4 separate regions of the Homo sapiens genome follow, and regions 1, 2 and 4 are each linked to region 3. Evidence: promoter capture Hi-C in 16 types of primary human blood cells and fetal thymus (Javierre and others, 2016). All regions are on one chromosome and are shown on one strand. Each heading gives the region's core, a stretch centred on a gene start or on the middle of the fragment in contact. The rest is flanking DNA. Distances are from core to core; before and after follow the strand shown.

The links. Contacts are between HindIII fragments. The CHiCAGO score rates a contact against its expected background, and 5 or more counts as called.
Region 1: a contact is called between a fragment that was not itself captured here and the fragment with the promoter of PANK3 in region 3, in 1 of 17 cell types (naive CD8 T cells). The highest score is 7.9, in naive CD8 T cells.
Region 2: the fragment with the promoter of HMMR-AS1 here is called in contact with the fragment with the promoter of PANK3 in region 3 in 4 of 17 cell types (naive B cells, naive CD8 T cells, total B cells and 1 more); the score reaches 9.5 in naive B cells.
Region 4: a fragment that was not itself captured here is called in contact with the fragment with the promoter of PANK3 in region 3 in 2 of 17 cell types (total B cells and naive B cells); the score reaches 11.3 in total B cells.

Annotation. Positions count from the first base shown.
Region 1 is chr5:163,512,228-163,515,371 of GRCh38, forward strand. MAT2B (methionine adenosyltransferase 2 non-catalytic beta subunit) reads left to right here. Exons shown (of 7, transcript NM_013283.5): 3 at 1,328-1,442; 4 at 1,615-1,767. Among named protein-coding and RNA genes, the nearest start is that of MAT2B, 8.2 kb to the left of the region's middle. The HindIII fragment of the contact is 1,444 bases long and covers 571-2,014 here.
Region 2 is chr5:163,492,351-163,495,582 of GRCh38, forward strand. It overlaps HMMR-AS1 (HMMR antisense RNA 1), which reads right to left and starts at 1,708. Exons shown (of 4, transcript NR_109892.1): 1 at 1,349-1,708; 2 at 1,093-1,199. The HindIII fragment of the contact is 5,178 bases long and covers 1-3,232 here.
Region 3 is chr5:168,577,911-168,580,809 of GRCh38, forward strand. It overlaps PANK3 (pantothenate kinase 3), which reads right to left and starts at 1,458. Exons shown (of 7, transcript NM_024594.4): 1 at 1,346-1,458. The coding sequence starts at 1,373. RefSeq lists enhancers at 1,186-1,255, 1,346-1,889 and a silencer at 1,406-1,735. The HindIII fragment of the contact is 14,951 bases long and covers 1-2,899 here.
Region 4 is chr5:163,433,924-163,436,919 of GRCh38, forward strand. It overlaps a transcript of LOC105377700 not described here. Among named protein-coding and RNA genes, the nearest start is that of CCNG1, 2.2 kb to the right of the region's middle. The HindIII fragment of the contact is 2,311 bases long and covers 96-2,406 here.

The DNA of each region.
Region 1 (3,144 bases), core at 43-2,542, 5.1 Mb before region 3:
AACAATATTAAGAGTTGTCTGGATGATACAGAAACTATCCTTGCTCTCAAGGAAATTACTATGTTTGAAAGCTCTAAAGTTGTATTATGCAGTAGCATTTTTTTCATTTAGCATGACATGGTATATGTAAACCTTAAAGTTAAATTTTGACACGCTGACAAAGACAAATATGAGACATTTTATAAAATGCTTATGTTTATAGAGTGCCTTCTAAGTAATACTTTCTCTGCAAATGGTTTTCAAATGTTACTGTAAACCTCACAACACTGCAAAATAGTTATTTTCATTTTAGGGCTGAGGGAGCAGGCTCAGAGAGGTTTTCGGTATCATTGATACTATTCTCCCTTTGACATGGATTTATTAGATATTTAAATCATGTTAATTGCATAAATGATAGCTCTTTCCTTTTGTCCAAATTGGGGGATAAAACTTGTTTTGATTTAGAAAGACTTCTGTTTTGTTCTTGTTTTTGTGACGTAATCTTGGTTTGTTGCCCAGGCTGGAGTGCAGTGGTGCAGTTGAGCTCACTGCAGCCTCCGCCTCCCAGGGTTCAAGCAATTCTCCTGCCTAAGCTTCCTGAGTACCTGAGACTACAGGCATGCGCAACCACACCTGGCTAATTGTTGTATTTCTAGTAGAGATGGGGTTTCACCATGTTGGCCAGGCTGGTCTTGAACTCCTGACCTCACGTGATCCACCCACCTCAGCCTTCCAAAGTGCTGGGATTACAGATTTGAGCCACCGCGCCCAGCCTAGAAACATGGTTGTTTTATTTTCAGACAGGGTCTCACTCTGTAGCCCAGGGTGAAGTACGGTAGATCGATCACAGCCCACTGTAGCCTTGAATTCCTTGGCTCAAGTGATCCTTCTGCCTCGGCCTCCACAACAGTTAGAACTACAGGCTCATGCCACCACGACTGGCTGATTTTTAAATTTTTTTGTAGAGATTGAGTACCAACCACTATGTTGCCTAGTCTTATCTTGAACTCCTGGCCTCAAGCATTGTCTCACCTCAGCCTCCCAAAGTGTTGGGATTACATGCATGAACCGTCACACCAGAGTAGAAATACAGTTGTTGACAGTTTTTTTCCTGGTTTGTGTCTGCATATTATGAAATACTCTTTTCAGTGCCTATAAATATTTTAAGTTTGAACCTTGCGGGGAAAAGAAGCAGCATGACAAAACTACATTAGAAATTACAATGATTTATTCTTAGTTGAAAGAATGTTGACTTACTGCACATTTTTCTCTGAATTAACTTTAAGAAGGCTGTAATACCTCTTTCATTTTATTTTGAGTTAAAAATACGTCAATGCTTAACTTCTAGCCCCATGTTATAGTACATTGTGCAGCAGAGAGAAGACCAGATGTTGTAGAAAATCAGCCAGATGCTGCCTCTCAACTTAATGTGGATGCTTCTGGGAATTTAGCAAAGGAAGCAGGTAATGATGACTTTATAAAATTTTCATAAAATATTAAGTGATTGCTGAGTTTTTAGAAATTAAGGTTTTGTAGATGGTTATTTGTTTTTATATATCATGAAAAACCATTCTAAATTCCATGAAAGAGTAATGTCATGTAAACATTTAATAGATTTGTCTTCTTTTTTTGTAGCTGCTGTTGGAGCATTTCTCATCTACATTAGCTCAGATTATGTATTTGATGGAACAAATCCACCTTACAGAGAGGAAGACATACCAGCTCCCCTAAATTTGTATGGCAAAACAAAATTAGATGGAGAAAAGGCTGTCCTGGAGAACAATCTAGGTAAGACCTAATCTATTTAGCCCCTGATTGTTTTTGAAGACTTTAAAAATCATTTATACATACACATATATATGTTTTAAATTTAAAAAGTCAATGAATATGAATCATTAGAGAAAAATTAGAATATAGTTAATAAAGAAAATAAAAAATTCTAAGAGATAACTACTTTGTGAATCCTTCAAGACAGTTTCCACTATCAGTGTTTACATATTCATCTTTACACATAGAAAACAAGTCAGGTAATACAAGCTTTTGTAACTCATTTTCAAAAAACAGGGCAGTATAATTTCTCTTAGAGTGAGATATTCTGTTTATGTATTCTGTTATATGTATGTTACTGTGTTATATGTGTATGTATTTTGTTTTTATGTATTCTGTTATATGTATGTTGTATGTATTAACATTCTATTATGGTGTTTCTTTTTTCCTGTATGTGAGTTTGTGTATAACACACATCTCCATATATAAAAAGTATACACTCCTTAGAAAAAATGTAAAATTACTAAGAACAAAAGTTCTCATAAATGCTGCCTCAGGGAGATAAACACCAAATATGGTTAAGTGTGGAAGCATTTTTATATATTTTCAAAAAATGTATGCATGTTGTTTCACAACCTGTTTTTTTTCCCTCAACATCTTTGCATTTTAGTACACATGGAACCTACTCTGGGATATCTTACTCCTATCAGTGGCTGCGTAGTACTTAATTTAATGGTCCCCTGCACTAAAACTACTGCCTTAGACTGTACTATGGCCTTGAGAAGCAGCCCTAGTGTAGAATACCTTACTAATGGACATTTAGTTTTTTAAAAAGTTTTCTTGTATTATAAATTATTCTGTTGAAATCATCCTTGAATACATTTGTCTTAGTTTATTTCGTGCTGCTATAACAGAATACCAACAACTCAGTAATTTATAAAGAACAGAAATTTATTTCACACAGTTCTAGAGGCTGAGAAGTCCAAGATCAAGGTGAGGGTCTTTCTGGTCCTCTGGAGGGGAGGAATGCTGTGTTCTCACGGCAGAAGAGCAGAAAGGGATGTGCTTCTTCCTTCAAGTCCTTTTATAATGGCATTAATCCATTCATAAGAGCAGAGTGCTGATGACCACCTAAACACCTCCCAAAATGCCCCACCTCCCAGCACTGTTGCTTCGTGGATTAAGTTTCAACATGAATTTTTGGAGAGGACAAAAACATTCAAACCATAGCAGTATCTAAGTTCTCTTGTCATGTAATTTAAAAGAAAATGTTTGATTTGCAGTTAAAGTGTTAACTATTGTATACCATCAGCAGGGACCATTATAAAATCTAAATATTAATGAGTGGTTGTAAAACTAATGTGAACACTCATATACCCTTCACATAGATTCACAAAT
Region 2 (3,232 bases), core at 458-2,957, 5.1 Mb before region 3:
CTGAGGCAGGTGGAATTCAAGACCAGCCTGAGCAACATAGTGATACCTCATCTCTAAAAAATATATAAATAAATAATAAAATGCTTCAGGACCTCTACTTTTAGCCAACATGGGGTAACAAGATGAACAACCAGGTGCACTGCCCAAAGTTCTGCCCACTGGGAGGATTTCTCTTTACCACTATCCTTCAGGGATGTCCCAGAGAAGGGCTGGTGTACTATGGCTATCCACTTTCAGGTGATGCCTACATATCACACAGAACCATCTATAAACTAGGCCCATGTTGTTTCTTCCTGTCAACTCATCATAGGGAACTCTCCATGAGCTTGGGAGAAAAAAGGCAAGGTAGCAGGAACAGGGACCATGGGCATTTGGGTCACTTCTTCATGTAACTTGCTTTTGCCTTCAGGTCCTGCCTGGGCCCAGTCACATACATAACACGTTCTTTGATGATGTACTCCTGCTGTCCACACCCAGCATTATGGCTTGTGGGTCAGATAACACCCAGCTCATGATGGGCAGCTCAGGTCGCATGGTAACTTAATTGACCACGGTAAGCATTCAGTCCCTACTGAAGCCCAGCAGTAGGCCCAGAGCTGTTTCTCAAAAGAGTAGTTATCTGCATAGGATAACAGGTCTTTCTTCAAAATACTAAGGGTCTGCACTGAGATTCATCTATGTGGGCCTGCCAAAGGTTCCAACAGCATCTCTATCTGCCACTGACACTTCAAATACCACTGGATCTGCAAGTTCATATGTCCCAAGCAACAAAGCCGCTTACACAATAGCCTGGACCTATTGCAGAACCTTTCCTATTCTGAGTCCTACTCCAAACTAGCAGCTTTTCAAGTCACTCAGTAAATGGGCCAGAGTAACAAACTCAAATGAGGAAACGTCTTCAAAATCCAAAGAGGCCTGCCGCATGTCATGCCTCTTCTGGTTGTAGGAGGGGGCAGATGCAAAAACTTACCTTAGAAGGGGTATCTCAACATGCCTCATACCACTGGACCCCTAGAAATTTTACTGAGACATGAAAAAGCCTTTGAATTTTTGTTGGATTTACTTCCCACTTCTGACATGCAAATGTCTTACCAATAGGTCTGGAGTAGTTGCTATGTCTCACTCATTAGGTCCAGTGAGCATAATGTCGTCAATGTAATGGACCAATGTGATGTGGAAAGAAAAGGCAATCAAGATTCCTGTGAACAAAATTAGGACAGGGCTGGTGAGTTGATATGCCCTGAGGTAGGACATGAAGGTGCATTTCTAGCCTTGCTAGCTAAAAGCAAACTGCTTCTGGTCGGCCTTATAGACAGGGATGGAGAGAAAGGCATTTGCCAGATCATACCAGGTAGCTGCATACCAGGAACCAGGAGTTGTGTTAATTTGCTCAAGCAATACATCTGGTACTGTAGCTGCAATTGGAGTCACCACCTAGTTAAGTTTGTGATAATCCATCTGTCTTCTGCCCAGGCTAAATAGGCGAGTTGAATGGACATATGGTAGGAATCACCACCCCGCCTTCCTTCAAGTACTTATGGTGGCACTAATCTCTTCAGTCCCTATAGGAATTGAGCATTGCTTTTGGTTTACTATTTTCCTAAGTACAGATAGTTCTAGTGGCTTCTACTTGGCCTTTTCCACCATAATAGCCCTCACTCCATAGGTAAGGAAACCAATGTGTGGATTATTCTGTCAGCTGCTGACTGTATTCTAATTATACATTCTAGAACTAGGGGATAACCACAGGATAGGTTCAGGAATTCACTGGGCCCATTGTGAGATGGAACTAAGCTAAAACTCTGCTGATCACCTGACCTCCATAAGCTGCTACCCTGACAGTAGCACTTTGGATCTCCTGAAATTAGTGTCACTTCAGAGAGCCAGTGTCCACTAGTTCACAAAAGATCTGATTATTCCCTTTTTCTAATGCACAGTTACGTTGGTAAAGGTTGTACATCCCTTTGCGGAGGACTAGGAGAAAGACTAACAGTATAAACATTTGGTTATGGACCAGGGTCCCTTTGAGGTCCTCCCCTTCAATCAAAGGGTTTTGGGCTCTATAAAGTGGCTCAAGTTTGGGAATTAAGGGACCACGATTCTGTTTTTATGATTCGAGTTCAACTTTCGTCACTTGACTTAGAAGTTTTCTGCTTATACAGATCAAGTTAAGACTTCAGTAGGCTTCCTATCTATTTCACGTCTAGGAAAACCATGATCAACTAGCCAAAGCATAGGTCTACAAGTGAGATTATTCTAATTGTTCCTTTGGCTCTGTCATTATGATAACCACTTCACCTTGCCTTTGGTGGTTGAGTCCCATTACTTGACCCTTGCCACCCTGGGATCCTTTACTTCCATTATATTTAGGTTTTCCAGTTCAGTGACTGCAGTGAGCTCTGGCCTACAGAGAAGAGCCATCACAGAGTTCTGAAAAAGATGCTGGAGCTCTCCTCGCAAATTTCTTTCTCATAGTATTGGTGAAAGGTATGCTTTCTTGACCTTCCCAGTGTGGATGAGTAGTTCTTTTTTTTTTTTTTTTTTTGAGACGGAGTCTCGCTCTGTCGCCCAGGCCGGACTGCGGACTGCAGTGGCGCAATCTCTGCTCACTGCAAGCTCCGCTTCCCGGGTTCACGCCATTCTCCTGCCTCAGCCTCCCGAGTAGCTGGGACTACAGGCGCCCGCCACCGCGCCCGGCTAATTTTTTGTATTTTTAGTAGAGACGGGGTTTCACCTTGTTAGCCAGGATGGTCTCGATCTCCTGACCTCATGATCCACCCGAGATGAGTAGTTCTTAAGTGAAAAATCTAATTTCCCAATATTCCTAAACCTTTTAATCCCATCCTCTAGATTAAACCAAGGCATGTCCAGCACTTCCAATTCATCTTTTCCATGTTTTAGTAAGCCAATCAAACTGTGAGCACCCTTTCTAACTCCCCAAGCTGCAATGTTAAATGCAGAATCTTGGCTTAGTGAGCCCATGTCAATAAATTTGACCTGATCCAACTTTATGTTCCTTCCATCATTTTCCAACACCTTTATTATCCATTCCGACATATGTTCCCAGATTTTTGTCTGTATAAATTAGAGACTTTGAGTAACTCTTTGGAGTATAGCACATCTCTTCATAGGTAACACTTTGTTCCTGTCTAGTTTCAGGTCTAGAAGCAAAGAAGGGTGGTGGAGTTGGGTCTGGAGGAGAACCAACATTGTCTTGCATATCAACTGCCTC
Region 3 (2,899 bases), core at 208-2,707:
TTAATTCAGCAAATGAAAATTTAAAGTCTCTCTATATTACTTTTCATTTAAGCCTTCACATCACTATTTTATAGATTTCTTGAACAACTATGACAGGATCTATTCAGTTATAAATAATTTTTTAAAAATTTTAATTAACAGATGAAACTACCAGATAAAGTACTTAGACAATGCTCTATGGGTGCAAGAGAAAGAACACTGTATTATGAGTCAGTCCCCTTAGAGTTATGAACCACATAGCACATGGTTGGTACATGCTTGGAAAAGTTACTCTGGGGCTAAGTTCAATTTCCTCACCTGTGAAGTTAAGACCAAATTACCTTACAGTTATATAGGAATTTGTAGTTTTCACAGGGTTTTGGCTTGTTGCCTCTCAGGTGAGTTTTACAGGAACCCCGATAGGCGGGCAGGGAAGGTGTCAGCGCCCTGTTTTATAGTTGTGGATTTCTTAACAGTTAAAGAGATCACATGAAACACTGTAAAAACAGCAAAAGTATCAATACGACTCTAAGATGAGCATGAATCCCCACGTTCCTAGTCCTTCTGGGAGGCTATACTTAAAAAGAGTGACAATCACAATGGCTGGGTGATTAAATAAGTCAATTACTGGAATAAAAGGTTTTTAAAAGACTAAACATAAAAGGAAGCAAATGAAAGTCGACCTTTCTAAAAGCATAGTCAGAATTTAAGTACATGCATAGAAAAATATCTACGGGTATTCACCATAATATTAATAGCGGTTCGCTCCGGGTGCGGGGAATACGGGTGACTTTATCTTTCTTGTTTATCTGCGTTTTCTAAAACAAACATGAACTAGTTGATATTCTAAACAAAAACAAGCCAAAGCAATTACACACTGGCAGACTGCATGCACGTACGTTTGAAAGCTCCAACTGTAACAACAGTGACAACTCCCAGGAACCCACCGGCATTTCAAGGACACAAGCAGGAAGCCCGGAAATCCCTAAAAACAGGTGCTAAAAGCCGCCAGCGCAACCTGACAGCCGCGACCGCCTCTTTTCAACCTGAATTCAGGGGGAGCTGGGAGAGGAGACTAGTCTGGTTTGACAAAAATCAGAATCAGAAATTCCCTCTGGCACCTCCCAGATCTCGAAGAGAAAGTGGGAGGAAAGGCTAGGGGGCGGCAGGCATTCACCATGCATGAATAGGGGGATGGGGAGGACGGAAGCCTCGAACTCGTGGCTCAAATGGTCCCTCCGCCCCCATACCGGACGAAGCGCCGGCGAGGAGCGACGGGCTTGGAAGCCGACCGCCCAGCCAAGGGGCTTTCAGACGGGGCCCAAGGGTGCCCTCCCAACCTGGCGGGCCCCAGCCCCCGTCTTACAGGGTTTCTTGGCATCTTTGATCTTCATGGCGTCGGCCCGAGGGGCGATGGACGGCCTCCGATCCGGGGCACTGAGAGCAGAGGCGGCGACTCCGGAGGTGGCTGGGCCGCGCGGCGAGGCCCGGCCGGTTCCTCCCCTCAGGCCGGGCGGGGCCGGCCTAGGGCGGGGCGGCGGCGCCTGAGGAGATGCCCGGCCCAGGGGGCGGCCCCCCACCCCCGCGAGGGGTGGCCGGGACCGAGCAAGCTGGGGAAGGCCGCCGGCCTCGCCGCTCCGGGGCCCCCCCGCAGCCGCTCCAAACAAAAGGCCCCGGTCCCCGGAGCCGCCGCCACCGCCGCCGCCGCCGCACTGAGAAATAGCCCGCCCAGGCCGAACGCCCACGTGACGCGAGCCCCCCCTCGCTCCGCTTCCGCCCGGCTGCTGGGGATTGTAGTTCTCCGGTTCGTGAGGCCCCGCTCTCTGGCTGTAGTTGTGCAGGTGGACTACAAAGCCCGAGATGCATCGCGGCCCCTCCTCCGAGGCCCCTCAGCTTCCGCAGATCGCCTCAGAGTGGTCCCAGCGAGAAGAGGGCTGGGTCTTAGTCACGCCAGCGAGGAGGCGACCAATGGTGACTGAGATGGGCGTGCTGGGGAAGTCGGGCTCAGACCTCAGCAGGTCGCGGAGAGAAGGGGGAATGAACTCTTCGAGAGGACTGTCATGGCTGTTCGGCCATTCTCAGATTTCCCCTTGAGACAGGAAAGCTGGTCGTCAGGCCATGGAAAGCGCTACAATCAGGGCTCTAGAGCTGTGCTTAAGATAGACCCTTGAGTACATTGGCGGATTAAAATTATTCACAAAGGAATCCTTTTGCTTAATAGAGACACCTTGAATGTTAGGGTCGGAATGATGACAATAGCAGGAATAGAGGTAACATCTATGGAACGCGTTATGTTCATGGGACTCTGCTAAGCACTTTGTGTGATTTACTTAAATTCAGGGGCCTTGTGGACCACGTGCAATTATTCATTTTATTGTCACTCATTTTGAAGATGGGGCACGGTCTGAGGAGTTAAATTGCTTGCTGAGCATTCTTTTTGCCACCGATCCATATTCCCCTGGGGCCCTCCAGCCCAGCTCTCTCCTTCTAAAGGGAAAACTGACTCCCAGAGAAGAAAATTTAGTTGCTCCAGTTCTCACAGTAAAGCCAGGACACCCTTTCCCCTTGCCTCCTAGAGTCTTAGTCCTCCAGCTGGAATGGGAGAAGATGGCATTGGGTATCTTCTCTTGGCCTTCACTTTTGTTGCCCAGTTAGATGGCCAGGAATTCTGTAGTTTTTACAATAGATGGATAGAGGGTTGGCAGTAGAGGATTGGGCATTCCAGTCAAAGAAACCCGCTTACCAAAGAGCCTTACTGCCCCTTCTTGCAGATGATAAGCCAAGGGATGTGAAGAAGGACAGGAGAGGACACAAGCTACCATTTATTGAGTACATACCAAGGGCTGACACTTTGCAAAGTGCCTTACTTTTAAAATTTAAATTTAATCCTCCCAACTACTTTTTGAAATACAATGATTAA
Region 4 (2,996 bases), core at 1-2,500, 5.1 Mb before region 3:
AGGTGTGTTTAAGTTCAGCACGATGACCTGGCACATGGGAAACATATAATAAATGCAAACCCTATATAGTACGTTTTTGGCTGGTCTTGGCTTTAAGCTTTGTACTCAACAGAGTCTAAAGCCATTAGAGAACAGAGGATCCCCCTCTAATGTGACCCAGTGCCTTTATATAGCAGTGGTTACTTGATGAGTCAAAAATTTAGTTTTTCATGAAATATATAGTAAAACCTCAATTAATTGGAAGGGGTTACTTTATCTGAGTATAGAAGTGGTAGCTAGAACCTCTGAGTAGAAGGATATTCATGGAATTGTTAATCTATGTTTTTTATGTATCCTTCTCTGTCTTTCTCCTCCCAACCATACTTAATTTCACTGGTGTCCCATAAACTAATAAAGAATTAAAGGAGCCACTGACAAGCAAGTTAACTTCAAATGAATAAGATAGACTAGATGCACTAGAGAACAGCTAGAGAAGTGGAGGAGGCTGTAATGCACAGTTACAGGAAGGATCAGAAAGCAGAAGGGAACTCAGCTGAGATCTTTTTGACCCTCACTTCCTTGGCCCTTATCATAGTTGGACAAGGCTACACACAAAAGTACCAGACATTTATTAGGGAGCCTGAAAAGAGGGTAAGGTGATTGGACATTGTGTGCAGGAGGGAAGGCACAGACTCCCACATCTCCAAGATGGAAACAAACAAAGCCAACCGGGAATTTCCCTGTGAGTCAGGGCAGTATTTGACACACCACCACTGTTTTATACCTGCTTGTTATAATCTTTGTTGTTGAAAGGCATGTCTACAGCCTACCATGCGGAGAATATGATTACATCTTCCCGTTACTGCCTGGATTCTTGCCCAGCCTCAAGGCCATTATTCTGACCATTAGTTCTTGTTGTACTTAACTGTTAATGGAGAAGAAGGTATGAGGATAGGAATTGAATACATCATTGAGCCTAGAATATACCCCCAGAAGTCAGTCATTTAACAAATTTTCAATAGGAATTCATGATTAAATCCACACTTCTTTAAAAATAAAATCATAGTTAACGAAGGGCTCATTATCTTTATTTTACAAGAGTGGATAACTGAGTATTACATTTCCACATTTTGCTAATTAGGTCTTTTCAATTATTTAAATGATGGTCTATATTCTAACATTTTGAAATGAAAATGGCAGAGGGGGTTAAGGGAGGAAGAAAAGTAAAGAATTTCAATTTGACTTGATTTATATTTAATTAATGTCTCTCCAGTACTAGTGAAATATTTTTATGTGAGAGATTTTAATAAAAAGTAAAAATATTCTAATGTACGAGAAAATACTGTATTATATAAACAATGATATATTACCTAAAAGCCCTCAAGTGAAAATTTCAAGTATAAAAACGTATAGAAATTAATACATGCAATTTAGATATTTTTATCTGTGTTAAATAAACAGTTCTAATACTCTGATTATCCTTCTAGGCTGAAAACAGAAGACTAGTCTGATAACAGAGAAAACACATCAAAGTGTGTTTAAGCAAGATATTTAAAAAGAAATAGTAATTTAATACTAAGGGCTACCATTTATCAAGAAATCTACTGTGATCTGGGAATAGTGACTACCTCTTTATGCACTTTCTATTATTTAATCCTCTTCATAACCCCATGAATAATGTATTTTTTACTTCTCATTGTTGAGAAAAGAAAATGTGATTAAATAACTTGCTGAAAGTCACATAACAAGTTATGAGCTATTCCTGGATATGAATATAAGTTTATTTTATTCTAAAGTCTATGTGTTTATATTGCCCACAGGTTACATGTTCTACAAGGACGGGTACCAGTCTAATTTGTTCTCCACTGGCCTATGCTATGTGTTCAATAAATATTAGTTAATTTATTCGTGCTTTTGATTGCTATAAAGAATTTTTTTTTTTTTAGACCAAGTCTTGCTCTGTTGCCCAGGCTGGAGTGCAGTGGCACCATCTCGGCTCACTGCAACCTCTACCTCCCAGGTTCAAGCGATTCTCCTGCCTCAGCCTCCCGAGTAGCTGGGATTACAGGCACGTGCCACCATGCCCAGCTAATTTTTGTATTTTCAGTAGAGACGGGGTTTCACCATGTTGGCCAGGTTGGTCTCAAACTCCTGACCTCAGGTAATCCACCCGCCTCTGCCTCCCAAAGTGCTGGGATTATAGGTGTGGGCCACCGCGCCCAGCCTGCCATAAAGATTTTATGATTTTTTAGCCATTTTTTTTAAAAATTGTGCATATACATTCCTAATTTTAGGAATTAGGAATAATAGGAACTAAAAGCCAAAAGGAGAAACTACATTTATAAACTCACACATTACAGCAAAAAGTATTTTTAAATAAAATCACTTGTTAAAGGTTATAAATTGCCAATTTATATTCACTAGGTAAGCTTTTATTTTCAAAAGGAACAAAGGCCTCTTCCCCATTTGAGCCCCAGTTTCTTAAACTGACCTGATTATGTGGCTAAGGTATTATTGTGAGGTATTGATGTTTTCTCCTGTTTTTCCTTCCCCTTCCTCCCCACCCCTTTTCCCCCTTTCCAGAGTTTTGTTCTGTGGCATTGCCTTGGGTAAGTACACGGCAGGGCAAATAGCAGAGTGACGGCAAATCTTTCAGATTTTCACTTTTTCAAAGTAAGAGAGACCGAACTGGGGCCATGAGAACAGAGACATCCAACTACTGTGTAATTCATAAGAGTTTAGAAATGACTCCTTGTGCACCCTTTTTCAGGCCCTTTTACAAATGGACTTTTCTCACTTGTGATGATCTGGGAGAGTGAGAGTGAGGAGAGTCTAAGAAGAGTTCAGGCTAATTATTTTCCCACTAATCTGGCATAGGAGAGGCTCACAGAGATTAAATTCATTATGGTAAATACAAAGAGTAATACTGCTTTACACTCGGGTCTGTAGACTGAGATTCACACTCACCACAATTATTCCTGTTAACAGTCTGCCACATACCTTTCATTTTAAGCAAC